Regions from separate parts of the Homo sapiens genome. Here regions 2 and 3 are each linked to region 1. The links are contacts of gene promoters, found by promoter capture Hi-C in human tissues and cell types (Jung and others, 2019). All regions are on one chromosome and are shown on one strand. Each heading gives the region's core, a stretch centred on a gene start or on the middle of the fragment in contact. The rest is flanking DNA. Distances are from core to core; before and after follow the strand shown. Region 1 overlaps ATXN7L2 (ataxin 7 like 2). Region 2 holds the start of GNAT2 (G protein subunit alpha transducin 2). Region 3 holds the start of MYBPHL (myosin binding protein H like).

Region 1 (3,082 bases), core at 350-2,849:
TTGAGGTTCATTGGAAGTGCTTTCCCCACAGGGAAGGAGTGCGACCTCAACAGGCAGTGTGGGGTAATAAATCCAGAGACCAAAAAGATCTGTACCCGCCTGTTGACCTGCAAGGTAACCCCCTTCCCACTGCACGGTGAGGGAGGACAGCACAGGGCTTGCCCACTCCTTCCCTGGGCAAAGAGAGGAATGTCGATGTTACTGAAGGTCCAGCTTAAGGGAGGGCAGTTAGGCCCACCCAAGGGAAGGGGAGATGGGTATGCCCCTCCTGGGCAGAAGGTGGGAACAGTGGGAAGGAGGGAGTTTCCAGATTCCCCCATCCCAAAGGAGGGTTTTGGCCCCATGGGGGAATGAAACAAAGACACATGAACACAGCTGCAAATATGCCCACCTCTCTCCCTGCCCCCCAACTTGCCCGGGCCAAAGCACCCTGCCGTCCCTCACCCCTTCTCAGTTCATACCTACTCCCCAGCTCTCCACTCTGCTGTATTCTAGATCCACTCAGTACACCAGCGCCGGGAAGTCCAGGGCCGGGCCAAGGACTTTGACGTGCTGGTGGCAGAGCTGAAGGCCAACTCCCGCAAAGGGGAGTCTCCCAAGGAGAAGAGCCCAGGGCGCAAGGAGCAAGTTCTCGAGCGCCCCTCCCAGGAGCTCCCCTCCTCAGTCCAGGTTGTAGCAGCGGTGGCTGCTCCCAGCAGCACCTTCTCTGTTCGTGCCAAGCAGACCTACCCATACTGTGCACTGCCCAGGTACGTCTAGAATCCAACCCCTACCTCACCTGGGGGTACTTGGCCCCTAAGCCATCAGGGGCCCCTGGAAACAGGCTCAGGGAGTGTCCTGGAAGAGGCACTCCCTCAGCCCTGAGTGTGGGGGTATTCCTGGGGCTCCTGACAGTGGTGTGGAAGCAGGAGACTCCCCTGTTTCCAACCAGGCATACCACAGCACCCCAGCCTCTCGGCAGTGTGCCAGATCCAACACTCAGGATATGAACATTTTCCCAGCTGCCTCCAACAGACCGAAACTTGTCACTGGGGAGCTGAAAGGGTCACACTCCTGGGCAAGGCAGCCCTATGTGTATTCACTCACTGGCCCCTTCGCGTGCAGAGGCTATGCCGGACCCCAGGGAGAGCCTGACTTGCTGAAGGAGACACACATGCATCTCTGCCTGTCACACAAGGGGCAGACACGAAACACAGGCTCAGCTCACAGACAGGCTCACAGGAATATGTGATGCAAGAAGGGGGTTGAGCGAGTTGACTGGGCTGACCAGAGCTGGGTACAGTTTTAACTGTGAAGATTTTCTGGAGGAGGCGGATCTGCAGCAGATTATCCCCTGAGGAGGAAGGGGCTGGGAGGTGAAGGGGCTGGGGAGAGAATCCCTTGGGAGCAGTCTCTCTGTCTCTTACTCTGTGAGCTGTGTCGTTCCCTCCTGTCCTTCCCTTCCCTCTGTCCTCTTCTGATTGCCCTGCAGGGTGTCTGCCCTGGTGCCCTGCTCTTTGAGCTCGGCAGGTTCAAGGATGCCCCTACTCTGACCCCACAACAGTCACATTCCCCTGGCATCCCTTTTGGCCCTTCCAGGTCCCGGGCCTCCTCCGAGAGTGAATTGGATGATGAAGGCCCCTGTGGTGGTGATGGGGACCCAGGCCTGTTCCCCTTCCCCATGCCCCGGGGTGGGACCCAGGCCTCCAGCGAAGAGAGTGAGGAGGAGGGGACATCTGACGACCTCCACCCACCCCCTGACTGCCATTATGCAACCCGGCCCCCACGGCCACAGGCGGTAAGGACCTGGAATAGGGGCCTATGGAGGGGGTGGCCCAGCACTCCTGGCCAACAACATGGGGAGGAGGCCAGATCCTGTGTGCAGATGCTGTCTGTGCACCCCAGACCCTGCCAACCATGCACCTTCCTTCTGCCTTTAGTTCTGCACCTTTGGGAGCCGGCTGGTGAGCCCAGGATGCTATGTGTTTAGCCGCCGGCTGGACCGGTTCTGCTCAGCACTCAGCTCCATGCTGGAACGGCACCTCAGCACACACATGTGGAAGTAAGTCTCTCGGACCCAGAATGGAAGTTCTAGAATGGAAATTCCTAGGTTCCAGACATACTTGGGCTTCAGAAGCCCTGATCTTTCCTGTATACCCATAGGTGTGCCTTGGCTATTTGCCAGCAGGACCCCAGATAGGGAGTAGCATGAAAAGGAGGTGGGAAAACTTGGCAGCCTAGAGTTTGGCTAAGGCAGGGCATGGAAGGGTGGTCTGGGGGTGAATCTAGACTTTCATCCATCACTTCCAGTACCTTTTGGGTAACTAGGGATAGGGGATGCCCAAACCAAGATTTAAAATGAAGTTCCTAGTGGGCTGCCTCCTAGTTAGTAGGTACTAGCTAATTCCTCTCCACAGGCACCCCTGTGTCTTCTTCCTAACCCTCAGTTCCAGCATCTCCCAGCAGATGGCAGCAACTCTGGGGCTCTGCTGACCATTTCTAGGTGGGGCAGAGAGACTGGAGTGTGTCTTGTGTTGGGGGAAGCTGTCTTGTTTCTTGGCAGTCACAGTGGGGCTTTCTTTTTGCTGCAGGAAGATCCCACCGGCAGCTGAACCTCCAGCTCACCTTGTCAACTCCCCGTTATCTGCTCCCCTGAGCCCATCCTCTACAGGCACCTGCCCCCGCCTTCCAGGTCCAACCCTGAGACCTGCCTGCCCAGCCTCCATGCCCCCCACCAAGGACAACCTTGTCCCCAGCTACCCTGCAGGCTCCCCCAGCGTGGCGGCTGCCTGTAGCCAGGCAGAGTGCATGGGCGGGAGCCAGGCTATCACCTCACCACTGCCTGCCAACACGCCATCCCCGTCCTTCAGCAAGCTGCCGCCTTCCAAGGCCAGCAAGTCATCCAAAGGCAAGGACGGGGTGGAGGTGGAGGCCCCTTCTCGAAAGCGGAAGTTATCCCCTGGCCCTACCACTCTTAAACGGACCTGCATCCTGGAGCCCACTGGAAAAGGGAAACCCTCTGGCTGTAGGGGCCTCTCGGCCAAAACTAAAACAGCCCTGAGCATGGGGCTTAATGGGACAATGGGGCCAAGAGTGAAGCGGG
Region 2 (2,827 bases), core at 259-2,758, 130 kb after region 1:
TATAATTTCTAAAATGCAAATAAATATAAAGAAAATAAATATAACCCATAATTCCATCACTACAGATAATCATTGGTAAACTTGTTGGTGTGTTTCTTTTCTACCCATGTATATCACATAAGTAGGACCATACTGTGTATAGTGTTTTGCATCCATTCTTTTACCTAACTTTATATTGTAAACATTTCCACATCATTAAACATTTCTCCAAGAACAATTTTTAATGGCTGTATTTCATGGTATGAATATTACATAAACATTCCCCTATTGTTCGACCTTTAAAGTATCTAACTTTTCTATGCAATACACATTGTGGTGCTGAACAACTTTTTGCATACATATTTTTCTGGCAGCTCTTTTTAGAAAAACAACTTCCAGAAAGTTGATTACTGGGTCAAATAATAAGAACCTTTTTGAAAATTTTGATTCTATATTACCAGATGGCTTTCAGAAAGATTATATCAGTGTTCAAGGCCACCAGTAATGTGTTTGTGCACATGTACGTGTGTGTGTGTCTCCCATCTCACTAACTATACCCTTGCCAACCTGCATTAGCGTTTATTTTTTGGTTTTTTGTTTTTTAGTCTTTGCTATTTTGATTAGGTAAACCTGGTTATCTCTGTTCTCTTTTTAGTTTTATGGATTCTGTGTGAGGTGAAGAGGCCAAGTTTTTTTTAAGTTTGTTCAGGGAACAGTAGCCAGGGATCAATGGAAGTGGCACCAGATGCAGGTGGAGAAAAGGGTTCAGGGTCCAGAATCCAGCGTGGGGAGAGAAGAGGGAGGCAGAGTTTGGGAAGGATCTCTGCTGTGGGAGTGGTAAGAACTGGGAGGAGCCAGACAAACAGCATTAGAACAACTGGGTGTGGGGGGCAAAGGCCTCCCACAAGAGGGAAAATAGGGAAGAGATTAATTCCTGCTAATGCATTTAATTATATTCAGTGAAGTCTTAGGGACTTCCCTCCACAAGTTCCCTTTAGGTCGGATTATCTACCCCTTGGCAGTGGGGATGCTTGTTGGATAGACCCCAGAACGGCTGCAAGTGAATCAACCTGTGAGTGTCAATAGAGAACCAAGGCCAAGGCTAAAGCAATGGTAATACATGAATACTGAGTACTAACTACAGGCCAGGCACAGTTCTAAGCAGTTAACTTATATTAACTCATTTATCTTAACCACCATATAAAGCAGGTACTCTTACACTCATTTTACAGACGAAATAGAAGCACAGAGAAGTTAGGTAACTTGCCCAGTATCAGTCAGGAAGTAGGTGAAATCTGGATTTGAACCCAGACATTCTGGCTAGAGTTAAAGCTCTTAACCACCAAATACAGAAATGTGGGAAGGGGAGCCAGAATTGCAGGGCACAGCCTCCTACCTACGCCGGCCGGAAGAAAACAGACGACCAAGTGAGATTGCAGGGGCAGGACTTCTGCTTAAAATGAATCCTGGGACAATGATAACAGCTACCTTTCACTGGGCCCTCACTTCGTGCCAGGCACTGTGTAAAGGGACTTTACGTTTAATCTTCACAGTAACCCCTTTGAGTGAGGTACTGTCATTACCCCATCTTACTGATGAGGAAGCTGACGCACGGAACTGGCCCAAGACCCAGGGTCGGCTCAGGCCAGCCCTACCGCGGTGTGGTGGCTGCCCACGTGGCGCCCAGGAAGAGAAAAAAATGGCGAGGCGGGGTCGGCAGGCGGAGGCGGGGCCAGGCGGGGGCGGGGCCAAGGGCCGCAGAGCCTGGCGCGGAGCCGGCGAGATTTTGGTGGGGTCTCACCTGTTGCGTGACTCCCCCACAGTCCGGCCGCGGGAGTCCGACCCTGAATGCCCAGGGAGTGTTGAGAGAAATCTGGACGAGTTTCGGGTCCCGCTCCCTTGGGAGCACGTGGCCTACCAGCCTCTCGATTGCAGGGTTGGGTGGTCGCGACACCGGGGTCGCCTTGAGGCCAGTCCGGCTGCCGAGGTCTGCGGGAGTCCACCTCCGGCCAGCTGGCAATTTTGAAAGACTGCCTTACTTTCCCCATCTCAGTGCCAGGGCAGGGGCCCTTGGAGTGACTTGGCTGGGGTCTGTGGCCCGATCCCCCTGCCGTCCCTCAGGACCCGGGCTTTCTGCTGTACAGACTTCTCGTGGGCAGCCTCCCCTCGGAACTCGGGCATCATGGCCTCAGGTGAGTGTGTGTACGTGTGTTGGAGGGAGGGTCTCTGGGACAGAGAAGTGCTGTGGCCAGAGTGACAAGAGGGTGGGAGTCACAGCACAGCAGCAGGACCTAGGGAAGGCGGTCAGCTCCTCCCAGGAGGGCCTGGGGAGCAGAGCCAGAGTGTGCAGAGACAGAGGAAAAATCCAAAGAGGCTAGGGTCTCTGTCCCAGACCCCCAGACAAGGGGGTCTCCTGGCCTTCCTGCCTTCCTGGGAGGTAGCTATTTGGCGACGGTGGAATTTTCCCGGGACAGGCCCCTCCCTCCTGGGCTGGGATTCTCGGTTCTTCCCCCTCCTCCCAGAGCTGGGCTACCCCGGGAGCTGAGGGTCAGATGTGGAAGGAAAGTGGGTGCTGGGTTTTCACGGAGTATGCCTGCCCTGCCCCGGGAGGACTGTGTTTGAGCTTGGACTCGCTCGCTGCTGAATTCCTGTTTGTTATTCTTTTTTCTTCCAGGCTAGCTGGAAGGACCAGCTAGCCTGGACTTTGGCTTCTTTGCCCGGGAGCCCTGGCATGATGGGGTGAGGGCTCTTGGTGGGTTAGTGGAGAGCTGGGGGCTGGCCCTTCCCCATCTTCTTTTCTACCCACCCCCTCCCCGCCCCCCGCCAGGCCCAGCCACCATCAGTCACG
Region 3 (3,030 bases), core at 337-2,836, 180 kb before region 1:
ACGAGAGGCTTTGGGCTGCATTTGCGGGCCCGTGACTGGGGGCTGTCAGGAGCTGGCTGCAGCCAGAGGGGAGAAGCATGGGGGAGATGAGCACTCTCCCTTGTGCTTTTGGGAAGACCAGTAGAGAGAGCTGAGGCGTCAGCAGTCCTGGCTCTCATTCTCCTGCTGCCTGTCACTTATTCTCTGGGCCTTTTAAGGGAAGAAACTGGTTTTCTGCCTCCATCACCCCAGCTTAATATATTTACACTAACTTTTGCTCCCTTCATCTTCAACGGGACAAACTTGGCCAGCTCTCTGCCCTTGACATTCAAATAGTTTCTGGAAACCTGGCCTCTCCCATGAGGATAAGAGGCAGACAGAGTCTGCTGCACAACCCTATGGAGGTAGAACGCAGCCTTCACCTCTCACTTGGAAATATTTGATCATTTATTTACATCTTAGTTTGGCCTCTTCCAAGGCACCCTGGATCATCTCAGCAATCCTTTCAACTACCCTGATAGGTAGATGTTATTAATCACCATTTTACAGAGTGAAAATGGAAACTGAGCAGTCCAGTGACTTGTCCAAGGTCACAGGGCTGTTAGAGGCGGCACTAGGAATTGAGCCTAGAGCTTTGCCTCCAAGTCTAGTATATCTTTTCCCCTGCCTCTTCCTGCCCTAGGAGTCCACGTGTTTCTTGATTGTGGTCTTTTCATCCTCTTAAGACTTTCAGGTGAGCGCCACGAAGTGGTTAGCTACAGAGGCCTCAGCCAGGGCATTCAGGGATGGGCGGCAGGAAGCTCGGGGTTGGAATTCCTCACTTGGGAACGCCTCTTTGCTGAGAGGCACACAGAGACCATCGTGAAGGGGAAATTGAATGCTTCTCCCAGGAGAGCTCCACTTCCGTGGAGCTCAGACTCTGAGGGGTCAGGATCTCCTATGGGAGCAGTGGGGGATTGGAGGAGGTCCTGACCCCGTGGTACTGCCCAGCAGGAGGCCGAGTGTCACTGTGCTGCCCCACTCTTAGCCTCCCCATTGCCATAGCATTTTATTTCCCTGTTCCTTCAGCAGACAGTCACTATCTCTTACCCCTCAGTCCCTTCCTGACTGGCCATTAGTATATCAGGTCTTCCCAGTCCCTATGACAATTTTTTAAAAGGTAAAAATATAAACAGATCATTTTTAGTCACTGTAAAGTGCCACCAACACCATCACTGACTTCTCAGCTAAAACACAAAAACTTAGCAGGGACATTTGAGCAGCAAGTTAGACTCCATCAAGGACAGGGGATGGGGGCTCTCACGAATGATCTCCAGCCTAATCACCAATCCTATAGAGTCTTTAGCTCTGCAGAAAACCTGAGGCGCCGTTCAGGAAGGTGGCGATGTCTTCCCCAACTCCCACCACCCGGCCTCCCCACCCTCCCCACCTGCCATGGGTCACCTTCTATAGGGGGCAGGAGCTGGGGAGTGGGGCTGCCAGCCCCCTGTCCAGGTGAAGCCTGGGGTGGTTCAGCATCCGCTGGGCTGGCTTCTTTCACCTTCAGCTTGGATCCTGCGGCCACCTCCGGAGCTGTGGCTGCCTCCATGCTGGGCCTTCCCAGAGGCTGAGCTCCAGCTCTAGATTTTCACTGCTGGTGATGAGGGAGGGGCTGAGCACCTGCTCCCAGGCTGGCCTCCCGGGTCCCAGCCACAGGGTTACGTAACTGGGCTGGCCCTCCCCACTCAGCTACGCCCAGCAGAAAGGCTGAAGTAGGGGTTGGGGGAGAGAGGAGGATCAGACAGCAGCCCAGAATAGCCCCAGGAGGACTGAGGTGTCCCTGTTATCTCGGGAGAGAGATGACACCCCCCACAGCACCAGGGAGGGAGAGCTTGAACACACCATCCAAAAGGGACCTCTAATTTCTGTAGGGAGGGTTGAGTGACATCTCTGCTCCTGACCTCCAGTTCATCCCGTGGGGCATTCAGGTCCCAAAGAAGGGGCCCAGGATTAGCTGACTCACAGCAACGCCTGAACTGCTCTTTCTCCCTCTGCTCCCACATTCAATGAATTGTAAAGTCTTATCAACTCGACCTTTACAGGGCCTGTCCCATCCTCCCCCGCTCCCCGGGGGCAGCGGGCACAGCGCAGTGGTAGGTGGAGACTGCACTCGCACTGGCTGCCCAGGTGCCACTTGGGGCTCTGTCACCAACTAGCTGTGTGACTCACAACACCTCACAGTCTCTCTTCAGTCTGTTTCCTCATCTGTAAAATGGAGATAATTATAACCATAGGGTCGTTGTGAGGATTAAAGAGGTAATCTCTGTAAAGTGCTTAGCAGAGTGTAGCCGACTAAGTGCTTGATAAATGTAAGCTATTTTTAGGTCAGGCCAGCACTTCCCCCTTTGAGAGCTGTCAATGGCTGCCTTGCCTATTAGATGAAGTACAAATAAAGGGAGAGGCAGCAGTGGTGGAGGGAGGCGAGCTCAGAGACCTGCGTGTGACTTCTGGCTGTACCACTCACTCACCAGCTGGGACTCTGGGCAAATGGCCGACTCGGAGTCTCAAGTCCCAGTCTATGAAACAAGGGATGATGCCATGATTGTGTTGAGGATAAAATGATACAATCTATAGGAAAGTGGCCAGCTCACAGCAGGTGCTAGTCACATACTACAGGTCCTACATGATTTCCAGACTTAGCAAACCATCTTTCTATACGTGTTGTACATGCCATGGACACTGCCACCTATCATACTCCTACCTTCTTATCTCCAGAAGCCAGCATCCCTCTGCATTTTAAAATGCTTTAATTTTAGAGCAGTTTGAGAGTCACGGCAAAGCTGAGTGGAAAGTATAGGGTTCCCACAGCCCCCTACTCACCCCTGTATTTTTTTCATGGAAAAAAAATGGGTGCAGTTGAACAAATGGACTGACTTCTTACTCATTTTTGCCTTCAATTTTGGGGTAATTGGTAAGATCCCAGGAGCCTGTGTTATCTTGGGGTGACAGAAGCTCAGCCTCTTTGTAACTGGTATAGGAGCTAAGGCCCAGGACAATCTGTTTATTGGGGCC

What was found. The method cuts DNA at HindIII sites, captures the fragments that hold promoters and counts their contacts. A contact is called where the count stands out against the background at its distance.
Region 2: a contact is called between the fragment with the promoter of GNAT2 here and a fragment that was not itself captured in region 1, in 5 of the 25 tissues and cell types used here (IMR-90 fibroblasts, adrenal gland, bladder and 2 more).
Region 3: the fragment with the promoter of MYBPHL here is called in contact with a fragment that was not itself captured in region 1 in 3 of the 25 tissues and cell types used here (H1 embryonic stem cells, IMR-90 fibroblasts and dorsolateral prefrontal cortex).

Annotation. Positions count from the first base shown.
Region 1 is chr1:109,488,352-109,491,433 of GRCh38, forward strand. It overlaps ATXN7L2 (ataxin 7 like 2), which reads left to right. Exons shown (of 11, transcript NM_001350175.2): 6 at 32-114; 7 at 496-749; 8 at 1,579-1,777; 9 at 1,920-2,041; 10 at 2,571-3,082. Among named protein-coding and RNA genes, the nearest start is that of CYB561D1, 4.2 kb to the right of the region's middle. RefSeq lists a silencer at 2,506-2,555. The HindIII fragment of the contact is 6,277 bases long and covers 1-3,082 here.
Region 2 is chr1:109,618,108-109,620,934 of GRCh38, forward strand. GNAT2 (G protein subunit alpha transducin 2) reads right to left here and starts at 1,509. Exons shown (of 9, transcript NM_001377295.2): 1 at 1,376-1,509. It overlaps AMPD2 (adenosine monophosphate deaminase 2), which reads left to right and starts at 1,730. Exons shown (of 19, transcript NM_001368809.2): 1 at 1,730-2,171; 2 at 2,807-2,827. RefSeq lists enhancers at 897-1,427, 1,408-1,457, 1,428-1,956, 2,478-2,527, 2,487-2,827 and a silencer at 1,648-1,837. The HindIII fragment of the contact is 31,069 bases long and covers 1-2,827 here.
Region 3 is chr1:109,305,425-109,308,454 of GRCh38, forward strand. MYBPHL (myosin binding protein H like) reads right to left here and starts at 1,587. Exons shown (of 9, transcript NM_001010985.3): 1 at 1,423-1,587. The coding sequence starts at 1,567. RefSeq lists enhancers at 1,105-1,844, 1,845-2,583. The HindIII fragment of the contact is 18,863 bases long and covers 1-3,030 here.